Linked DNA regions of Homo sapiens: all the other regions are linked to region 4. Evidence: promoter capture Hi-C in 16 types of primary human blood cells and fetal thymus (Javierre and others, 2016). All regions are on one chromosome and are shown on one strand. Each heading gives the region's core, a stretch centred on a gene start or on the middle of the fragment in contact. The rest is flanking DNA. Distances are from core to core; before and after follow the strand shown.

Evidence for each region. The method cuts DNA at HindIII sites, captures the fragments that hold promoters and counts their contacts. A CHiCAGO score of 5 or more calls a contact.
Region 1: a fragment that was not itself captured here is called in contact with the fragment with the promoter of SUN3 in region 4 in 1 of 17 cell types (activated CD4 T cells); the score reaches 5.2 in activated CD4 T cells.
Region 2: a contact is called between a fragment that was not itself captured here and the fragment with the promoter of SUN3 in region 4, in 6 of 17 cell types (total CD8 T cells, total CD4 T cells, activated CD4 T cells and 3 more). The highest score is 8.2, in total CD8 T cells.
Region 3: a contact is called between a fragment that was not itself captured here and the fragment with the promoter of SUN3 in region 4, in 3 of 17 cell types (total CD8 T cells, activated CD4 T cells and non-activated CD4 T cells). The highest score is 6.3, in total CD8 T cells.

Annotation. Positions count from the first base shown.
Region 1 is chr7:47,970,947-47,976,740 of GRCh38, reverse strand. HUS1 (HUS1 checkpoint clamp component) reads left to right here. Exons shown (of 8, transcript NM_004507.4): 4 at 1-11; 5 at 1,054-1,128. Among named protein-coding and RNA genes, the nearest start is that of HUS1, 5.8 kb to the left of the region's middle. The HindIII fragment of the contact is 1,348 bases long and covers 1,342-2,689 here.
Region 2 is chr7:48,081,524-48,087,404 of GRCh38, reverse strand. No RefSeq gene overlaps it. Among named protein-coding and RNA genes, the nearest start is that of UPP1, 4.8 kb to the left of the region's middle. The HindIII fragment of the contact is 4,999 bases long and covers 141-5,139 here.
Region 3 is chr7:48,066,261-48,071,703 of GRCh38, reverse strand. No RefSeq gene overlaps it. Among named protein-coding and RNA genes, the nearest start is that of UPP1, 20 kb to the left of the region's middle. The HindIII fragment of the contact is 9,280 bases long and covers 1-5,443 here.
Region 4 is chr7:48,026,851-48,032,518 of GRCh38, reverse strand. SUN3 (Sad1 and UNC84 domain containing 3) reads left to right here and starts at 3,412. Exons shown (of 10, transcript NM_001030019.2): 1 at 3,412-3,702. The coding sequence starts at 3,581. RefSeq lists an enhancer at 3,022-4,221. The HindIII fragment of the contact is 1,156 bases long and covers 2,263-3,418 here.

The sequences.
Region 1 (5,794 bases), core at 766-3,265, 54 kb after region 4:
CAGATCCTGATGTAGGTGATGCCTGCAGTCCTGCTGTACACCCCACATTAAATGGCATGACTTGAATTCTCTAGTTTTAGTTGTAGTCTTGCAGTATATTTTATTTTTAAAGGATACTTAACGAAAACATTAGATTATTTGCCTTTTGTTATTTACATAAAGCATCTTAAAAATGTTGCATATGATAGAAATGTCATGCCATCCTATATGTAGAAAATGTCTCGCTCAGTAACATCACTTAAAACACAAATGATACTTTTGGAGGACAATTAGTATTTATTAGTATTCTTGGCCTTAGACACCAATTTGGGTTTCACAGGACTTGATCTTTTCCTCAGCCGGTCAGGAGCGATATCTGGATGTGCACGAAAGCCAAGAAGAGAAGAATTTCATGGCTTAGGGCTAACATGGGGTAACGGTCATGCCGATGGTTAACCCTAGAGCTCCTGAAAGTAAAGATGATGCCAAAGGGCCCATTTCCTCTTGCTCACAATTTGTTTAAGAAGAAAGTACAGAAATATGCTGGGTAAAATAATTACTTGACTTTTACTAGATGGCACCTACACTGATTTTGAAAAAGCCTGTGTTTTATAGAGCACTCTTGGTAACAGTCTCAGATGTGATGCAGTGACTGTCTGCCATGTTTTTGTACAGAGCATGGAAAAGGCCCTTGAATCATAGGTGTAAATGTCCCTTAGAGGAGGGCCTCCTGCTGATTGCCTGAGTTATATTCCCCCTGGACCAATATAGGGGCATCTCAGCTGAAGTACCCTATTCCTTCTTGAGCCAAAAGAATGCCCACAGGGACATGGTTGCTGAGGTAACCAGAGGCAGGCATTCCATTCTTTAATTTTGCTTGAGCATCCTTGAGTTAGTGAAATAGAATTGGTTTTCTTTTTATATTTTTAAAAGAACTTTATTCAGAAAATTGTAAAATAGTATCCCATAGTTTTTGAGCATGCATGTGTTCTAGAGTTAGTTATGGGGCCCTTGTCATTACTAGAGTATATTAATATTTTTAATACTTGTGCTTTTTTCTCATTGGTTTTGTAGGTTAGTATTTATTTACCAGTCTTGAAGACTATGAAGAGTGTTGTGGAAAAAATGAAAAACATCAGCAATCACCTTGTAAGTCACAACTTCTTTAGAAAAGAACTCTGAAGTATTTGGTGGGACGGCGTGGGTTCTCCAGCTCACCCTGCAGCAGTCCATGCAGGTGGGCACCTCCTAACCGAGTTCCCACTTATGAGGACCTGGCCTGGTGCTGAGAACCTGCAGATTGCTAGTTGGATTTAGAAACCTATTCCAATACTTTTCAACTCTAATTCTTTGAGGAAAGCTTTTATATTTGCCTTTAATCTGCCTGTTTTTCCTCTTATATTTTGTATGAAACATTGTATCTTTCTTTTTTTTTTTTTTTTTTGAGACAGAGTCTCACTCTGTCGCCCAGGCTGGAGTGCAATGGCGCCATCTCACCTCACTGTAAGCTCCGCCTCCCGGGTTCATGCCATTCTCCCACCTCAGCCTCCCGAGTAGCTGGGACTACAGGCGCCTGCCACCATGCCTGGCTAATTTTTTGTTTCGTATTTTTAGTACAGACGGGGTTTCACCGTGTTAGCCAGGATGGTCTCGATCTCCTGACCTCGTGGTCCGCCCGCCTAGGCCTCCCAAAGTACTGGGATTACAGGCGTGAGCCACCGCGCCCGGCTGGAACATTGTATCTTTTACCTGCTAACGTGCCCGTATTTTTCTGTGAGTCACTGATATGACTGACAGTGAGTTTGGAGTTTCCTGTCTGCGTGCCAAGTGTCTTTCAGTGAGCCAGGGACAAAGATATGCCACACCATAGCAGCCTTTATTCCAAGCACACCTCACACCAAGCTAGGGGGCACTTTTATATTTCTGTTTATTTTCTGTTTATTTTGTGGAAGTCTCCTATGGCCACATGGCTCGAAATGTTACAGTGTGTGACAGTGGTGGGAAATGTGTAGGTTATCCTCATTCATACCTGGGGTTATTGTGAATTCTTCCTTCACTCACTGCCCCTCCCTCCTCCCCCTGCTCCCTCCTATCCTGCTCCAAAAAACACCCTTGGTTATGTCCCTGAATCTTCTAAAAACCACTGTCCACCTGATGAAGCATAAACTTTTGATCTTGACAGTGTACCAGGCCACCTTTATAGCCACATCTCTGTTGTATTGCCACACCCTCCCTGCAGAACGAGGCTGGGTTCTGGTATTCCCCCACAATGCCTCTTCTTTTTTGTTCAGTTTCTTTGCCATTTGACACATGGCTTCTTCTCTCCATCTCCCTGGAAGGCACTTAGCCATTCTCATGCTTCATCACAGACCTTTCCCCACCACCCCTCTGGAAGCTCCTCCATGGAGCTGAGCTGTCCAGTGTACATGGTAAATCACCTGCTAAGATCTCTGAAGGTCTCGTGAACCACCAGCTTCTTGATAAAGGAAACCCCATCTTAATCATCTTTGTGTCCCAGCTGCCCAGTGTGGGATTGCCACTCAGTAGGCAGCAATAAGTGTTGCATGGATCTGGAACAAAATTTAGCTTCAAGAGGTCTTTGAAATCACAAAAGTATTTTGAAGCCTAGAAAATGTACATTTGACTGTTTTTTTCTAGAGTTCTGCACACTAAGAGCAATGCTGTCATTGGACCTGGGTAACTCAAAGCTTTTCCTTCATAACTTAATCTATAAAATCTGTTTTCCATGAAGCAGTGTGCACTGTGCTGACGTTGGTGTCACCTGTGACTGCAGTGATGCTGATCCAGTTGTCAGGCTGGCTTCATCTGGGGATACCCTGGGGACTTCCAGAGAAATTCAGAGAGGCCCAGGAGAGAAAAGACAGGGCTGTTAATTGAAGGATGGCATTTGTTTGTTCTTTCTGTTCAATGAAAATGAGTCAGCAAGGTAGAGAGGTAGAAGGGTAGCTTAGAATCATCAGAGGTGTTTTGTTTTCTCTTTTTTGGAGTTTAAAAAAACATAGAAATATTGTGGAGAGGCTACTACGATCTGGAATTACTAAATGGAAAGTTATCAAGTTACTGTAGCAAAGTACATAATGAGGTCTTCCTGGGTATCCAGAATTCTGTATCTGAATATTACAGGCAGTAGAATTAAGGAAAATGGGTAGACTTAACACACTAAAAATGCCCACCTTCCCATTAGAGATGCCCAGTTACTTCCTTTCATTAAATGCGAGGTGTGACTGATGGGGTGGGTTGTATGTGACTCATGCAGGAGCAGAAAAAGAAGCAAGAACTGGAGGGAATTGACATCATGTTCTAAGACATTGCTTCTAAGTTCTACCATGCGTGTGAATCCCCTGGAATCTGGTTAAAGTGCAGGTTCTGATTTGGGAGGTCTGAGCTGGAGCCTGAGGCTCTGTTTCTGACCAGCTCCTGGGAGATGTCGATGCTGCCTGTCTTCAGACCACATCATGTAGCAGTACTTTGTGATGTGTGCCTGTATTACTCCGTTTTCACGCTGCTAAAAAGATATTACCTGAGACCAGGTAATTTATAAACAAAAGAGGTTTAATTGACTCACAGTCCTGTATAGCTGAGGAGGCCTCAGGAAACTTACAGTCATGACAGAAGGCAAAGGGGAAGCAAGGCACGTCTTAACATGGCAGCTGGAGAGAGAAGAACACAGGAAAAACTGCCATTTTTAAAACCATCAGATCTCATGAGAACTCCCTCACTATCAAGAGAACAGCATGGGAAAAGCTGCCCCCATGATCCAGTCACCTACCACCAGGCCCCTTCTCAGCACTTGGGGATTACAATTCGAGATGAGATTTGGGTGGGGTTGCTGAGCCAAAACAAACCACATCATTGCCATACTATATTGTACTTCAAATGTTATCTGAGAAACGGCTCTGCAGGGTCACCTAATGATAGAAACCAGAGTCTATGTTTAGGAGTCATGATATGGAAGAGGGGAGTCATTGGAGCCACATACCTGGGTTCAGCTCCAGGCTGCGCTGTGCAGTGAGTACCCTAGTGCTGGATACTACCCCAAATGGGGATAACAGTGCAGCTATGACAGGGGCTTCGTCAGTTTTTAAAAATTTAGAGATAATTTTTACTAGGTGCCCAGTATAGTCAGCATTCTATAAACAATAGTTGACTATTTTAAGGAAATCATTGAAAGATCTTACCCTGATACTTAAGAAATCAAGTGTGTTGTTGTGTATAATATCCCAAATAACTGAATCTTAAAATAGACATGAGTGACCAGTGTTCAGAGAATTAGTTGTTTGTTAGTTTCTTCAGTAAGTATTGACTTAAGGCCACCATGTGCTAGGCACCAGGTGTTAATGGTTAGGAGGGAGTTGGAATCTAATGTTCTGTTACTGAGATTCTTAGGAATTTGAAGAAAACACAAGAGAACATTTAAGCCTGAAGTGCATCTAGGCCCATTGCAAGTTGCATTTTTAAATAAGTATTTATTTATTTATATCTAAAACCATTGCTTTTCAAAACAATGGGAATTTACAGATCTTGGGTGTGTGGTTGTTTGGAACAAATGAGCTAAGGTCATGTGTTAGCCTTAGCCCCACTAAGCAGTCTAGCATATTCACAAAGATTGTTTTATATATTTTATTTCAGTCAACTATTGTTCCAGATTGTAGGAAAACGGGTTAGGAAATATAACAATATATTTTTTTGGATTAATGAAAGAAAAGGGTTGAAAATGAGTATTTCTCATTCAAAGTAGATTATACAACAGGTAAGTTTGGGGCACTATTTTTCTATTAATGTGAAAAGCTCAGAAATAAGAGCTCACCCAAATTAGAAAAACTTTGTTTCTGGAATGAAAACTATTCAGAGTTCACCAATTTTAAGGAATAAGAACAAGGAACACTAAATTGTATTCAGTAAACATGAACACTGATACAGAGCCGTGCAGACAGAGTGCCTTCTCTGTTTTCTTTCTGTGACACTGTGAGGATGGAATGGCCCTAAATAAGACCAGTTGCTAGGTGGCACTTTTCTAGTACTAGATGGCAAAATGCTATCCAGCAGACTACACACTGGCTTTCCAGAGACCTCCTAGGCTTTAACATTGGGCAGATATCAACATCAAAAAGAGAAATAACAGGTACTGGTTCTTTTAGGAGGAAATTTCATTGTAGGTGCGGGAGTGGACCAGGATAGGTTAGCAAAACCTCAAACCATACTGTGGCATATGCTTCACTTCTAGGTTCCATCCAATTAAAAGAACTGATTGGTTGTTGGGGTGGGTAGAGGAGCTTCAAAGGAAAGGAGTCCCTTGTGACCTGTGGAGACAGTCCCCGGGCAGCAAGAGCAGGAGTAGAAGAGGGGTGCCCGATGGTATATGAGGGGATGGCAGAAGTCTGGTAGCCTGGGCGTGTGGAGTTTGGCTCAGCCATCCTCAGTCCTGGTAACCCAACAGCAGCCCCAGACCCTTCTGGATTTGGACATTTCATTTTCCAACATGTGAGTTTATTTTCTAAATAAATGGCTATGTTCTCATGAGATTCTGAAGGCCTTATAGTCATATTAAATGTGTGTTTATGACAAATGGTTGATTTATATTTTATAAAAATAAGACACTGATTTCCACATTCTTCTCATTTTCCCCCTTCCTGTTTTGTAATGGTTATATTATGTCTACATCATCAGAGCATAAAATTTTATTACTACACGTTATTCTGTCCTCTTCATTCCTGTTGTTTAGTTTTGGTTCTAAAGGTCAAAATAAGGCTCACACTGTTTATGCTGTAACTTCTCCAATGATTTTTTTGGTTAT
Region 2 (5,881 bases), core at 1,391-3,890, 56 kb before region 4:
AGGTAGATTAACAACTTAGTTTTAGTTTTGTTACCGGAAAAGGGTCCCAATCCAGACCCCAAGAGAATGTTCTTGGATCTTGTGCAAGAAAGAATTCGGGGCCAGGGTGAGTCCACAGAGTAAAGTGAAAGAAGCAAGCTTATTGAGAAAGTAAAGGAATAAAAGAATGGCAATTCCATGGGCAGGGCAGCCTCTAGGGCTGCTGGTTGGCTATTTTTATGGTTATTTCTTGATCATATACTAAATAAGGGTGGATTATTCATGAGTTTTCTAGGAATTCTTCCTTTTAGAACATATAGGGTAACTTCTAAATGTTGCCATGGTATTTATAAACTGTCATGGTGCTGGTAGGAGTGTCGTTTAGCATGAGAATGCATTGTAATTAGCGAATAATGAGCAATGAGGAAGACCAGAGGTAGTTTTCCTCACCTTGCTGGTTTTTGGCAGGTTTTGGCCAGTTTTGGCTGGCTTCTTTACTGCATCCTGTTTCATCAGCAAGGTCTTTGTAACCTGTATCTTGTGATACCACCTGCCAACCTTCTATTTCATCCTGTGACTAAGGATGCCTAACCTCCTGGGAATGCACTCCAGCAGATCTCAGCCTCATTTTACCCAGCTCCTATTCAAGATGAAGAGTCTCTGAGTCGACTCCTGCTGACATATTTCCTGACTCTACAACCCTTAGGATTAAGGGTTCCCTTGTAAAAGGGAAGGGGGAATAACCAAATAACTCACCCCTTTCTTGGAAAACTCAGGAATAATCCACCCCTTGCTTAGCACATATTCAAGAGTAATCATAAAAAATACCCACCAGCAGCCCTTGGGGATGCTCTGCCTATGGAGTAGCCACTCTTTTATTCCCTTCCTTTCTTAATAAACTTCCTTTTACTGTTCTCTGTGGACTCACCCCAAATTCTTTCTTGTAGGAGATCCAAGAACTTTCTCTAGGGCTCAGGATCAGGACGCCTTTCCAGTAAGTTTGGTGACCTGAAACGTTAGCATGGGTGACTTTATTTTTATTTTTAGTCTTGTCTTTTGGGGCCTAGTGCAAGAGCTTAGTCTAAAACAATGGCCTCCTATAATTTGTGTTTAACATTTGTCAGGTTAAAACCTTGTCAGTGTGACAAACTGGAAACAAAATTGTGTCGGGCCACTACTAAACCACACCCAAAATACCTGTGTCATCAATGTTTGCAAGCAGAGAGCAAATGCAGCCCACCAATGGCCACCTAGAGCAGCAGCTGCTAGAGGCAGGAAAGTCTGGAAGAGACCCAGGGCTTGCAGGCTCAGCCAGGATCCCCCTGCTCCTCAACAAGGTCTTTGGGCTCTTTCAGAGATGCAGTTGGCCCTGAGCTCTGAGAGGTGGGGAGGGAAGGGGCTGAGAGGCTGAAGGCCAGGCCACACCAGATAGTGACACACCACTGCCCTTCAGGTTTCCCAAATCTAAGTAACTTCAAACTCTTTGAAATTCTCCCAAAGCTAATGTGTCTACCTAAAAGAAAGATGAGACAAAATTAACATAGAGAGTTTATTTGTGCCCAGGTTGAGGACTGTAGCCCAGGACACACTTCTAAGTTGCCATGGGGAGTGCTCCAAGAACAAAAAGGAGGCTCAAGTTTTTAAAGAAAAAAGAACAACTCAGGAGATGGGGCGATTGCAGAGTTGTCAGGAATCCTCATTGGTTTACAGAAATAACATTGGTTAGTGATTGCCCACACAGTGTTGAACTATAGGGTGGATGGCATCTTATGGCTAATTGGCCTCAGTTATTCTACAGCCACATAGCAAGTGGCTTCAAGAGGTAACCACTTAGCTGAAGGGGAAGTGAGCCATGACTGCTGTTCTGTTCTAAATGTTCTCTGGGCCTGATAATTTAAAGGCTCACCTTCCTCAGGAAAAGAAATGTGTTTGTTGTTTGTTTGTTTGTTTTCTTTCTCAGATAATATTTTAGAGATAGTAGCTGAGGCTTCTTCTCTGTTTGTCCTCACTTCCCAATTCCTCATGCAATTGCTCTTTTCTTTCCAATCCAGCAGCCATACAGATTTCTAGAACACCCCTCAGAGAGGGCAGAAATTGAGCCGCAGTGTTTTCTAAACAGCTGCCTGGTCCATTCGTGGGTCATGAAACCCATGTGGTGGGTCACAGCTAGCATTTTCATTGTCAGTGAGACAGAATGGAGTGAAAAAGCCTCTGCCTGCTTTCCACACCAGAGCACGTACTTTTATCACACGAACTATGACTCAGACACCACAAACCCAGACCAGGCCTCCAGGTCAGAAGTTGACTCCCCTGAGGCCTGTGGTGAGACTACAGCATGACTCAGACCCCTGAGATTTCAAATTCTTGCCAAAATACAAAAAGTGAGATTCTTCCCGCCAACTCTCACTCATCATATAGAGCTACTCAGTCCCCTGACCCACCCCCAGCTCAGATAGGCTCACAGTGGCAGGCCCACTCCCCTGGCAGCTGAGTCCAGTCTGATGAGCCATCACTTTCCCAGGTTGCTGGTCCTAGTAGTCAACAAAGAGAGTCAAACTCTGTAAAATATTTGAAGAGATTTATCCTAAGCCAAATGTGAATGACCATGGCCCGTGACACAGCAAACGGCCCTCAGGAGGTTCTGAGGACACGTGCCCAAGGCGGTCAGGGTGCAGCTTGGTTTTATATGTTTTAGGAATGCATGAGACAGCAATCAAATACATTTAAGAAATACATTGGTTTGGTCCAGAAAGGCAGGACAACTCAAAGCGGGGTAGGGGGCAGGGTTCAAGGCTATAGGTAAATTTAGACATTTTCTGGTTTACAATTGGTTGAGTTTGTCTAAAGACCTGGATTGATAGAAAGGAAATGTCCAGGTTAAGATAAAAGATTGTGGAGACCCAGGGTATTTGAAGTCTTATAGTGGCTGCCCTTAGAGACAATAGATGACAAATGTTTCCTATTCAGATCTTTAATAAAAGGTGCTAGACACTTAGTTAATCTCTTTTTTTTTTTTTTTTTTTTGAGATGGAGTCTCACACTCTCACCCAGGCTGGAGTGCAGTGGCGCGATCTCGGCTCACTGAAAGCTCCGCCTCCCAGGTTCATGCCATTCTCCTGCCTCAGCCTCCCGAGTAGCTGGGACTACAGGCGCCCGCCACCACACCCAGCTAATTTTTGTATTTTCAGTAGGGACAGGGTTTCACCATGTTAGCCAGGATGGTCTCGATCTCCTGACCTTGTGATCCACCTGCCTCGGCCTCCCAAAGTGCTGGGATTGCAGGCGTGAGCCACCGTGCCCGGCCAGTTAATCTCTTTAAAATTGGGAGAGCCTGGAAGAAAAAGCTCTAGCTATGTTAATAGAGATTTTTTACAGATGCAAATTTCCCCCACAAAGGACAGCTTTGCAGGGCCATTTCAAGATATGGCAAAGAAACATGTTTTGGGATAAAATATTTTTATTTTCTTCCCTGTCTCGTAATGTTATGCCAGAGTCAGGTTGGAAAGTAAGTCACGATATATAGGGTTAAATAAAACCCATCTCATGAGAATTCATTGTTTATAGGGCATGACTCCCCAGACCCCTTAGATAAGAATTGGCAAGATAAAAAAAAACGTCAGAGCTTAGTCCTCACAGTCAATGGCTAGCCTCCAAGGAAGTGGAGGATTCCCACAGGATTCCAGCTGCCCAGAGGCTTCACAGGCATATCCATGTTTACAGAAAAGATACAGGCCATGAGATATTTATACAAAACACTTAGGAGTCACAGCCAGCTACCCAACGGATGCCAATGGCTGACTGGTTCTTGCCCTCTCAGTCTTCACCTTTAGGAGAGGTGGTGCTGGCAGGATGTGGTATTTCTCATTCAGGGCCTCTGGAACCATCTAATCTAGGAAACACCCTTGTCTCATGCCTTGCTGCCACACAGCTCCATTTGCTCTCCAGTTTTCCAAGAAGCCTTCTACCTGACTGGTTTTGCTCTAAACCACTATCTCAGACTGAAATTCTTCACAAATTCCACCCAGGAATAATAAGGGTTCATTTCTGAACTGGACTCAGCATGCCATATGACCCATGGAGATATTTTCCTCATGAGATTTGACACAGGGGTCATTGGCCATGCCGCACCCTAGCTGATGACTGGGCAAGTTACCAAAAACCATCTGAGCCAGCCTCCTCGTCTACGCAGGGGAATAATATGGTTCTGCAGGATGGTTGAGGTCAGGGAAAAATGTATTCAAATTAGCAAATTCTTGCCAAAATACAAAAAGCGAGATTCTTCCCACCAACTCTCACTCATCATATAGAACTACTCAGTGCCCCATGTATACAAATGTAACAAGCCTGCATGTTGTGCACATGTACCCTAAAACTTAAAGTATCATAGTAATAAAATTTAAAAAAAAAGAAGGCTTTTCTGGTTCATTGTTCTGTTTGTTATTCTGCTGCTTATGTTTAGAAAACACGCAGAGAGCTAGGATGAGGCATTCTTGGAGCCACCTCGTTAGAAAAATGAAGTCTGCTGCCTTGCTTTCACAATGGCTGGTAAGAGTATAGTTTTAATCTATCATTGTTTCCTTATGCTTGCTATCTCACATGCCAGGTAAAGCTATTTGCTCCCTCGTCTCACTCTATCCCATTTGTACCCCTAGGTAGGAGAATGTGGTCTGGAAAATGAGGTGTCACTGGTGATCAGACATCATCACTTTTCTAGTGACTGTCAGCTTAGTTTTGTCCTACAGTTGTCTTGATTTCCAGCTAGGTAATGAGTGTGACATATCTTTAAGGTTTGGGTGTGCCAATGTACTGGAGACAGAAAATTGACTCACTAATTAAACCATAGCCTGAAACTTGCATGTTCAATACAGGCCTGCAATTTCCTTTACCTAGGCTTGGTCTCAGGTATTCTTCATAGTAAAGGTGATATTGCTATTGTATCACTATGACTCATGGTGTTAGGACACCAAATTCCTCATTACATCTTTATTTTAAACTTCTAAACTAGTATAGCTCCTAGGATTAAAAGGATTGCAGATTTTTAATTTTTTTAAAAAAGAGGCAGTATTTAGGTGTACCTGGTAGGGGAGAGAACAAGCATAAGGAAAAATGAATAAATTGGGGCTGTACTGTTACCAGCCATTTTGAAGACAAGGTAAAGCTTTTTCATTTTTCTGATGAGGCAGCTCTGGGAATGCATTATCTTGGTTCCCTGCATGTTTTCTGGGCATGGGAAGCAGCATAACAAACAGAACAAAGGAGTAGAAAGCTTTCTATTTCTTACCCCATGCAATTGTTTGATTTTGAGATTTGAGCTAGGTATTTCAAGGACTGCCATTAACCAGCTATGTAACCTGGTGTTAACTGTTAAGTTTTACTCACTTCAAATTTGCTTTTGTTTCTCCAAAACGTTTTGCGCATTTATAAGATAAATAAAAATCAGCATTTTTAGAAGGCAGCTATGATCACCACTCTACCACCAATGCCACGAAAATCTGTATTCTTGATTACCTGCTGGAAATAAAAATGTAATTGCTAAAATACTCAGTATAAGTTAAGTGATACAAGTAAAGATCTATCATGTGTTAAGTTTCAAGTTTCACTTAATGTTCTTAATAAAATAATGGTAGTTTGAATTCTCTACAAATATGTTCAGCCTATAATATTCTAAATTTACAGATGCTTGAGAACACATAATATTTTTGATTAACTGAATGTCAAACTATTATCCTACCTTGTAAATAGCATAGAAATTTTAACTATAGTCTTTAAAAAGTCAAATTTCATTGGTAGGGAAGTGTAAATGTATGATTTTTTTAAAACACAACATTAAAAGGTTGAGGTTATAACTTTCATAAAGATGAAATCACTATTTAAAAGCTGCACATACACTGATTATTATTGT
Region 3 (5,443 bases), core at 2,476-4,975, 39 kb before region 4:
GTAATATACACTGTGCACTGTAATATACACTGTGCACTGTAATATACACTGTGCATTGTAATATACACTGTGCATTGTATGCTATGTAATATACACTGTGCATTGCCAAGCAGTTTGGACATTTATTCTTTTCTGCTTATTTCTCCCCTGTTGCCTTCTGTGTCCCACACCACCTCACCCCATGGCAGTTGGCTGCCCAAAGCAGGTCTATCTCAAAAGAAATGATGGTGTTAGCTTTCCCTTGCACAACCTTGAGATATCAGAAAGCCTTTCTAGGTAACATCCTAAGTGGAGATCTTGGTGTCCTTGTCCTGTAAACTACTTCAGCCCCAGGTCTGAGTGAGTGGAAAGATTAAGTGTTTTATACTCCACTGGCAAAGCACAAATACTGCACCAAATGAAAATAAAATTCTTTAAGTAAGGGTTTTCAAAAGGTGGCATCCAATTTGCGTGTATCGTATGGGGTAATGCAAAGGCTGGAACACAGTAAAACAAGAAAGGAAAGCGCATAAAGGTCCAGAGGTGGACAGGCATCTGTCTGACACATGCTATGTGATAGCAGGGAAGTCACTTAACCTCTCTGAGTTGCTGTAACTCAGCAGACCTCCAACATTTTGGTTTCAGGACCCCTTTACACTCTTAAAAATCACTGAAGACTTCAAAGAAATGTGTATGTAGGTATTTAGCTATTGATGTTTATTATATTAGAAATTAAAACTAATATATTTAGCCTATTTACTTATTAATTTATTTTAAAGTAACAATAATTAACCCATTATATTAGTATAAATGACATGTATATGAAACATAACTATATCTTTACAAAACAAAAAAAAGTGTGAGGAGTGGCATAATTCTACATTTTTGCCAATTCCTTCACTATCCAGCTTAATAGAGACAGTTAAATTCTCAGGTCTGCTTCTGCATTTAATCTGAAATAGAATCATATGTCATATAGTACAGTAAACACTGTTGAATATAGGGAGAAAATAAGAGAAAGAGATAAATACAGTTTTTAAATTATTATGAAAATTGTTCTGACCTAGCAGACTCCTGAACAGGTCTTGGGTATTCCCAAGCACCCTTGGGAACATGCTCTGAGAACCACTATTTTATCTAAAAAGTGGATCTGAATCCTATTTTCCCTTGAAGAGCTGCAGGTAGCTCACACTCCAGATGGCACCTGGTGTCTTAACTCGTGGTCGCCATCATGTACAGATTAAACTCTCACCAGGGCATTTAGACTGGGATGGCGGAGACCCAACTGTCAGGTTTCATGAATTTTGACTCCCTTTTCTCAGAACTGGAAGAAGACCTAGCAACGCTGTTGTCCTTCCCACTTGACTGAGAGATGAGGAGCTTGCAGCTGTAGCCTGGCACCACATAACTGACGACGTGCTTCTCAGTGTCCATGCTGAGTATTGCTTGTGTATGGTGTGAGGTATGGATCTAATTTTCTCTTTTTCTCTTTTTTTCTATCGAAATGGCTGTATACTTGTCCCATGTATTAAAAACTTTATTTTCTCGGTCATTATGCGATGCCACCTTCATTATACACGTATTTACCTATGTCTGTAGTTGTATTATTTTTTCATCTTTTCCACTGACCTGTTTGTCATTCATGTGCCAGAACCACACTGTTTTATTATGAAGGCTTTTTGGTATGTTTTACTTTTTAGTTGGCCTAGTCTCCCTTGTAGATTTTCCTTTTTAACTGTTTTCATTCTATTCTTGCATATTTTCTTTTCTGTAGGGATTTTTTTTTTTTTTTTTTTTTTTGACAGGGAGTCTCACTCTCTCGCCCAGGCTGGAGTGCAATGGCACAATCTCTGCTCACTGCAACCTCCTTCCAGGTTCAAGTCATTCTCCTGCCTCAGCCTCCTGAGTAGCTGGGATTACAGGCACCTGCCACTATGCCTGGCTAATTTTTGTACTTTTAGTAGAGACAGGGTTTCATCATGTTAATCAGGCTGGTCTTGAACTCCTGACCTTAGGTGATCCGCCCGCCTTGGCCTCCCAAAGTGCTGGGATTATAGGCGTGAGCCACCAAGCCTGACCTCTGTAGGGATTTTAGTATTGACTTCAAAAGGGTTATTCATATTTTTATTGGGATTGTGTTAAATTTATAAATTAACTGGCATCCTTATAATGTTGCTATCCTGGCTAAAGCAAGGGATGTCTAGTTCAAGACTACTTTTATGTCTTCTGGAGTGTTTTAAAATTTTTTCTCATGTAGATTTTACTTGTTGATAAATTTATTCCCAAATATTTAGTCTCCTTTTTTGTTACCATAAATGGAATTTTCTCTACTATTTTATCATCTAAATGGTCATTGTTTGTGTATACAAAACTTGCATTATGTTGCATACCATAAATATATACGATTGTATTTGTCAATTAAAAAATTTATATTGCAGATTTCTGCATATTGATCATATATGCCAATAACATTGGTTTATCTTATAGTCTGAGTTAGTTTTGTTATTTATTTTTTAGGGTTTTCCAGATATACTGTGTTATAATTTTTAAAAGTTACTCGGGTTTTGTCTTTGGTTTTTGGCACACAACTCCTAAAACCTGTGGAATCTCCAGAGTGAAAAAGAGTGTCATTTATACGATAATGAGATGCCTTTTTTGGTTAGGAGCCCCTAGATTAGCTTCAGGATTAGGAAAAACCAAGATACAGTTAAAGGGTTAGAACTTCAGACTGTTCTTTCACCATGAATGGTTTTGACACCCTTGTTTAAAATCAACTGACTGTAGGCATATGATGTTATTTCTGGAAGCTCAGTTCTATGCCATTGGTGTATATGTCTCTCCTTATGCCAGTACCACTCTGCCTCCATTAGTATAGCATTAAGTGTGTAGATTGTTTGGAGGAGTGTTGCCATCTTAATATTAAGTCTTCCAATCCATGACCACAGATGTCTCTGGATTTACTCTGTATTCTTCAATTTCTTTTAATAATGTTTTGTAGTTTTTAGTGTACAAGTCTCCTCCTTATTTAAATTTATTTCTAAGTATTTTATTCTTTTTGATACTATTGAAAATGGAAATGTTTTCTTAATTTCCTTTTCAGATTATGCATTGTTGAAGTATAGAAATGCAACTGATTTTTGTGCATTGATTTTGTATGCTGCAACTTTGCTGAATTCATTTATTGGCCATAGGCCATATAATAGGGGTGTGTGTGTGTGTGTGTGTATTCTTTAGGATTTTCTGTATACTGCACTGTATAAGATCATTCCATCTGTCTCAGTTTGTTCCTGCTGCTATAACAAAATACCTTAAACTTCTTAATTAATAAACAACAGAAATTTATTGCTCACTATTCTGGAAGTTGGGAAGTCCAAGATCAAGGGGCCAGCAGATTCAGTGTCTGGTGGAAGAGTCACTGTCTGCTTCAAATATGGTGGCTTCTTTCTTCATCTTCAAATGGCAGTAGCGGCAAACAGGTTCTCTCAAGCCTCTTCTATAAGGGCACTAATCTCATTTATGAGGACTCTGCCCTCATGACCTAATGACTTCCTGAAGTCCCCACCTCTAAATACTATCTTAATTGGGAATTTGAAGTAGGGAGACACCAACACTCAAACTGTAGAACCATTTGGAAATAGAGATAATTCTACTTATTTCTGTATTTCCAGCTGGTATGCCTTTTTTTTTCCTTCCCTAATTGCAGTGCATTGTTGAAATAGAAGTGACAAAAGCAGGCTTTTTTTTTTTTTCTTTTTTTTTGAGATGCAATCTCGCTCTGTCCCCAGGCTGGAGTGCAGTGGCGCGATCTCATCTTACTGCAACCTCCACCTCCCGAGTTCAAGCAATTCTCCTGCCTCAGCCTCCCAAGTAGCTGGGACTACAGGCACCCAGCCACCACACCTGGCTAATTTTTTAATATTTTTAGTAGGGACGGGTTTCACCGTGTTGCCCAGGCTGGTTTCAAACTCCTGAGCTCAGGCAACCCACTTGCCTCAGCCTCCCAAAGTGCTAGGATTACAGGCATGAGTCATAGCACCCAGCCAAAAGCAGGCATTTTTATCTGGTTCTTGATCTTAGAGGGAAAGCCTTCAGCCTTTCATCATTGATTTTGATATTAGCTGCAGGTTTTTCATAACTGTCCTTTATCAGGGTAAGGAAGTGCCCTTCAATTCCTGGTGTGTTGAGTATTTAACATGATATTGGATATATTGTGGGTGTATGCTATACATACATTTCTGGATGAATTTAGATGATTATGGTTTTTTTTTCCTTTCATTCCCTCAATGTGATTGATTAATTTAGCCAGCCTTGCATTCTTAGGATACATCCCACTTGGTCATGACATTTAATTCTTTTAATATGCTAGTGGATTCAGTTTGACAGTATTTTGTTAAATATTTTTGCATCTATATTCATAAGGAATATTGGATAGTAATTTTCTTTTTTTGCAATGTCCTTTATCTGACTTTGGGATCAAAGTAATGCTGGCCTCATGAGTTAGGAAGTATTCCTTCCTTTACGATTTTTAGAAGAGCTGGAGAAAGATTGTTGTTCATAACTGGTAATTAGTGAAAACTACTTCCATTATTGGGAGGTTTTTGATTACTGGGTCAGTATCTTTAATTTTTATAGATCTGTTCATATTTTCTTATTTCTTCTTGAGTCACTTTTTGTAATATGAGTGTTCTAAGAATTTGTCCATTCATCTTGGTTATCTAATTCTATTGGAGTACAGTTGTTCATAGTGTTATAATCCTTTTTAATTTCTTTAATGTTGGTAGCAATGTCTTTACTTTTATTTCTTTTTTTGGTAATATGAGTTTTCTCTCTTTCTTTCTTCATCATTCTAGCTAACAGTTTGTCAGTTTTGTTAATCTGTTCACAGAACCAACTTTGGTTTCATTGAGTGTGTATTTTTTCCTATTCTCTGTTTTGTTGACTTCTGCTTTAATCTTGATCATTCCCTTCCTTCTGCTAACTTTGGGTTCAGTTTGTTCTTATTATAGTTCCTCAAAATGTAAAGATAGGTTACAGATTTGAGATCTTTATTCTTTTTTCATGTATTTGTTTACATTAAAAAAGTACAACATATAAAAACTTTAAAAAAACTTATGGGATGCAGTGATAGCAGTGGTCAGGAATTATAAATTTCTAAACTTATAATGAAAATTTCTAAATTGTCTAAATTTATAATTTCTGACCATTGCTTTCACTGCATCCCATAAGTGTTTTTTTGGTTTTTGTTTTTGTTTTCTGTTTTTTTGAGACGGAGTCTCATTCTGTCGCCCAGGTTGGAGTGCAGTGGTGCAATCTCGGCTCACTGCAACCTCCGCCTCCTGGGTTCAAGCGATTCTCTTGCCTCAGCCTCTGCAGTAGTTGGTATTACAGGCATGCACTGCCCTGCCCAGCTGATTTTTGTATTCTTAGTAGGGATTTTACCATGTTGGCCAGGCTCGCCTTGAAC
Region 4 (5,668 bases), core at 2,163-4,662:
ACTGGATTTCTTTGACTCTGCAGTGCTCTGCATGTTAAAATAATGGCCTTTTTCTTTGGTTGAAATTTTTAAAGACACATTTTGGATTTTTTCCAACTTTATTGAGATATAATTAACAAACAAAACTTCTATGTTTCAGTTGTACATGTTGGTTTTATACACATGTACGTTGTGAAATAATTACTACAATCAAGCTAATTGACATATTCATCATCTCACTTAGTTACCTTTGTGTATGCGTATGTGGGGTAAGAACACTTGAGATCTATCTACTCCCTCAATACATTTCAAGTATACAATACAATGTTGCTAACTGTAGTCAGCATGCTGTACATTCGATCCCTGGAATGTATTCCTCTTGTAACTGAAGCTCTGCACCTTTTGACCAACATCTCCCCATTCCCACTCCCTCTGCCCATCAGCCACTGGCAACTCCCATTCTACTCTTTGCTTCTACACATTTGACTTTTTAGGCTCCACATATAAATTAGATCATACAGTATTCACCTATCTGTGTCTGGTTTATTTCACTTAGCATAATGTTCTCCAGGCTCATTCATGTGGACACAAATGACACAATTTCCTACTTTTTATGGCTGAATAATATTCCATTCTCTTTCTCTCCCCCCACCACCACCACACACCCACCGTGTGTGTGTGTGTGTGTGTGTGTGTGTGTGTGTGTGCATAAATCACATTCATTCATCCATCAATAAACACTTGGGTTGTTTTTATATCTTGGCTTGTAAATAGTGATACAATGAACATGGAAGTGCAAATATCTCTTCAACACACTGATTTTATTTCCTTTGGATATATATACCCAGAAGTGGGATTGCTGAATCATAAGGTAGTTCTATTTTTAATTTTTTAAGGCACTTCCATACTGTTTTTCATAATGAGTATACCAATTTACATCCCACCAACAGTATACAAGGGTTACATTTTCTCTGCATTCTTGCCTACACTTATCTTTATATATTTTTGTTTGTTTGTTTTAAGATTAACAATTTCTTTAAAATATGGGGTCTGGCTATGTTGCCCAGGCTGGTCTCAAACTCCTGGGCTCAAGCAGTCCTCCTGCCTCAGCATCCCGAGTAGCTGGGATTACAGGCGTGTACCACTTTGTGCAACACTAGCTGTTTATCTTTTTTATAATAGCCATCCTAACAGCTGTGAGGTGATATCTCATTGTTGTTTTGATTTACATTTCCCTGATGATTAATGATGTTGAGTAGCTTTTCACATGCCTGTTGGCAATGTGTATGTCTTCTCTGGAAAAAAATGTCTATTTAGGACCTTTGCCAACTTTTAAATTCAGTTATTTGTTTTCTTGTTATTAAGTTCCTTTGCTGTGCAAAAGCTTTTTGGTTTTTGGTTTGATGTGGTTCCACTTATTTATTTTTGCATGTGCTTTTGATGTCATATTTAAAAAGTCATTGTCAAGACCAATGTCAGGGAGATTTTTTCCTTGTTTTCTTCTAGGAATTTTATGGTTAGAGGTCTTATGTTTAAGTCTTTTATCTATTTCAAGGTATTATTTGGGTATGGTGTAAGATAACTGTCCAATTTAATTCTTTTGCATGTGAATATCTACTTTTCCCAGCACCATTCATTGAAGAGACTACAGTGTCCTTTCCTTATTGTGTACACCTGACAAACTTATCAATGATTAGTTGGCTGTATATGTGCGGATTTATTCTTGAAAAATACACATAGACTTTGACCCAGAAGTTCCTCCTCTGGGTATATATCCTTAAAGATATATTCACACATATGGATAATAACTTAAATACAAGATTACTATTGCACATTATTTTAAATACCAAACTGCCCATCAATATGAGACAGGCTAAATAGCCTATGGCCCATTCACCCAATGAAACACTATTCAGTCATAAATAAATGAGGAAGATTATCTCAAACAATCAAAACAACTTCCAAGATACATGTTTAAGGGAAAGAAGCAAGATGCAGAGCACAGTTTATAGTAAGCTACCATTAGGAATGTGGAGAGATAAATATACCTATAAAATATTACATATATAATACAATGTCACATACTGTGCATGTGTATCACATCTTTGAAAGGAAATACTATAAATGGTAGCATAGATGCTAAAAGAGAGGGGAACCAATAGCTAGAAGGCAGATGCCGGGTGGAAAGGCCATATTTGCTGTGTACCATTTTGTAACTTTCGAATTTTGGACTAGTAGGTAAAAAAGTAGAAACTTGGGGGTTTCTTGGTATAAATCTAAGCTTTCAGAAAATAAGTAGTAAATTGAAAAATAACACTTACAAATTCACCCAGAAATCAGCATAAGTAAAAAGAGAAAAAAGCAAAAACAAATATGAAGGAGCAGTTGAACGGAAAGCAAAAGGGAGACACAAGTGTCAATAGGTGGACCATTCTAAGAAAATTGAGGCAGTGGCAGAGAAGCAATATTTGAAGCCCTGATGGCTGAAAAATAGTCCAGAACTGAAAAAACACACAAGTACCCAAATTGAAAAGACTCTCTGAGTTATAAGTGAGGAAAAACAAAAACTAGTATCAAACCTGGATACACTAAAATACAACTGGAAAATATGGATAAACAGAAAATCTTAAAAACTACGCGAGAAATTGCCAAAAAAAACAGAGAAATGAAGATAAGACAGAATTCTCATCAACAACAATCAATCCACAAGGCCATGGAGTAGTATCTCCAAAGTGCTGAGAGTGAAATGACTGTCATCGTAGAATTTATGCCCCAAATAAACCAGCTCATCCTTCCACCTAACTATTCTGTTTCTAGGTGTATGTTTAGAAAAACCTTGTGATGTGCATATAACAACGTGCAATGAGCATTATTCCTTGCCAAAAAAACTGAAAACAACCTAAGCATACATTTACAGAAGGATGGGTAAATGAATTGTGATGTATGTATAATGAAATACCATAGAGCAATTAAAATGAGTGGAGTTAATGTCTCAAGATAAATAATATTGTAAGAAAACCTAGAGTGGCATAACATTTAGTTTATGTTTTAAGCATGAAAATGGTATTATTTATAGATACAGATTTACATAGTAAAGTATCAAAAATAATGAGAATAGAGTATATCAATTTTCAGGTTGTAGTTATCTGTGGAAAATAAGAGTGCTGAGATTCAGGGATACTTGGGGGTCTACTATTATATTTCTGATATTTTCTTTATTAGAAAAGCACTGAAGCAAACACAGCAAAACATCCAGATTTGCTATCGAAAAGCGGTAGGTACATGGGGGGGCCTTTGTATTATTCAGTGGGTGTGACATATGGTACAATTAGGCCCTTGAAGCAGAGAGGTGGTTGCCTGTCCATGCCCTGGCTGGGCGTGGTGGCCATCTGCATTATGAGGTGTCACGGAGGATGATGCAACAGAAGAATCAGAAGCTTTTCAAAATTCCGTCTTCAAGAAGAAACACCCGTGGAGGAAGAAGACATTATACAAAACAAATTTAGAAACTGTATGTATAGCTTCATGTTTTTCATAAAATAGGAATGAGGACAAATGTTGCTCTTCATCCTACCAGCTGTTTGTTCTTTGGTAGGGGATCATGAGTGGAAAAACAAAGGCAAGAAGGGCTGCCATGTTTTTTAGACGTTGCTCTGAAGACGCCAGCGGTAGCGCCAGTGGCAATGCTTTGTTATCAGAGGACGAAAATCCTGATGCGAATGGGTAGGTAAACATGGCAGAACGGTGTGCCTGAAATTGTAGGTTTTATGTGTTACATCTGTCACTTGTGTCTGTTCATCTGTTACCTGTTACCCGACAGTATTTTCTCCCTTTATAGAGAAAATCATTTTCAATAGTTTCCTTTGAAGGTTTCTCTTCATCACAGTCTTACACTTGATCACAATACTTCTATGTCAACGGTATCTGGATTAATAACAGCAGACTTGGGAGAAGGATTAAGAAAGGAGAGCCACCCTCTTTAAAAGAATGAGCCACAGCAGCAGGAACTTAAAAGCTTCCAGATAATTCACTTTTTTTTTTTTTTTTTTTTTTTTTTTTTGTCATTGGGCTAGCTTGTATAGTCTTGGTGGTATGCAGAGCTTAGCACCGGGCTCAGGACTCTGGGCACAGAGTGGCATTTATTACATTCTTGGGTGATAATTGACTAAAGACTCTGGTAGGGGATGCACATTTTGAGTGAATCACCCTGTTTCCTCTAGTGAGAACATATGTGGGGATTATTATAGCAGGGAATCCAAATACCCTAAACCTATTTACAAACGCCCTGCCCATGTGCTGCCTGCTGGGAAAACAAAAACTACAAGTAATGAAATAACCTTCCTATTGGTAACAATGAAGCACTTGCACAGAACAAAACTGTCAATAAAAATAAAAGGAATGCTACAAAGTTATTAGTACAAGTAGAGCAGCATTTCAAAATCACAGTAATAACAAAATATGCTTGCCCCAAATGGCAGAATCCCACTGGCTGGGTGAAGGCACCGAAGGAATTTTGCAATGCAGAGCCTGGCAGCCAGTTTTCTAGTGAAAAACAAAAAACGAAAAACACTGGAGTTAATCTTTGGTAAATATGGTAATGTGATAATTTTCACTTAATGCAGCCCACCAAAAGAGCTCTTGTAGACCATAACTGACCTATGAACAACTTTTTTAATACAGTGGACCCCCTACCACTCTCCACATCTCCAATAATAGTTAAAAGGAAGAGGTTCCAGAATACACTTCCCTGGAGGGGAAGAGAGTTAAGAAAATTCTCTTCTTAGTTGGTTTCCACACTGTCACACTCTTGGATGGCTAATAGGTATGACTGCTTTATGTAGGGTAGATAAGCTACTTAAAGATTCTGTACTGGGAGAATTAGGCGGCCCACTCTAGTGAATACAGTTAATGAATGGTCCATCTTAATGTGATTTTTCTTATGTTTTAAGTAGAAATTTTTAGTTTGCCAACTTGTAATACTTTATCCGGAAGTTTATAGCCTTCACGTTAGATTAATGTGATCATTTTAGCTTCCCTCCCCATCCACCCTTTAGGGCTTTTTAAAAGGTTAGATGTGAAAAGGTTGTCATTACAACCACTTTGTAACACTGAGCAAAATCTACTGCAACGGATTATGCATGTATCCTATGACCCATCAATGTCTCTCTTGAAAATACACTTAAATGAAATACATACTTGTCTTCATCAGAAACCATGTACAAGAATGTTCATAGCTGCATTGCTTGTAGTAATATTTATAACTGCATTGTTTATCATAGCCCCAAACACCCATCAATGTTAGGATGGATACCCACATGATATATTCACACAATGAAATACTACACAGTTATAAGAATGAATGAACCACAACTATACACAACAGCACAGTTGACTCTCACAGACTTAAGACTGGGAACAGGAGGCAGACAGATAGAGCCCATACCCACATGGGTCCATTTATAGATGGTTCAAACCCAGACAAACCTACTTAATGGGGATAGAGCTCAGGAGAGCAGGTACCTTTGGAGGTGGGAGGTATAGGGTTGATAAGGGCATAAGATGGGCTTCTGATGGGCTTGGTATATTCATCTGCTCGGGCTGCAATAATAAATACCACAGACTGGGTGGCTGAAACAACAGAAATTTACTTTTTTTAACAGTTTTGGAGGCTGGGAAGTCCAAGGTTCCA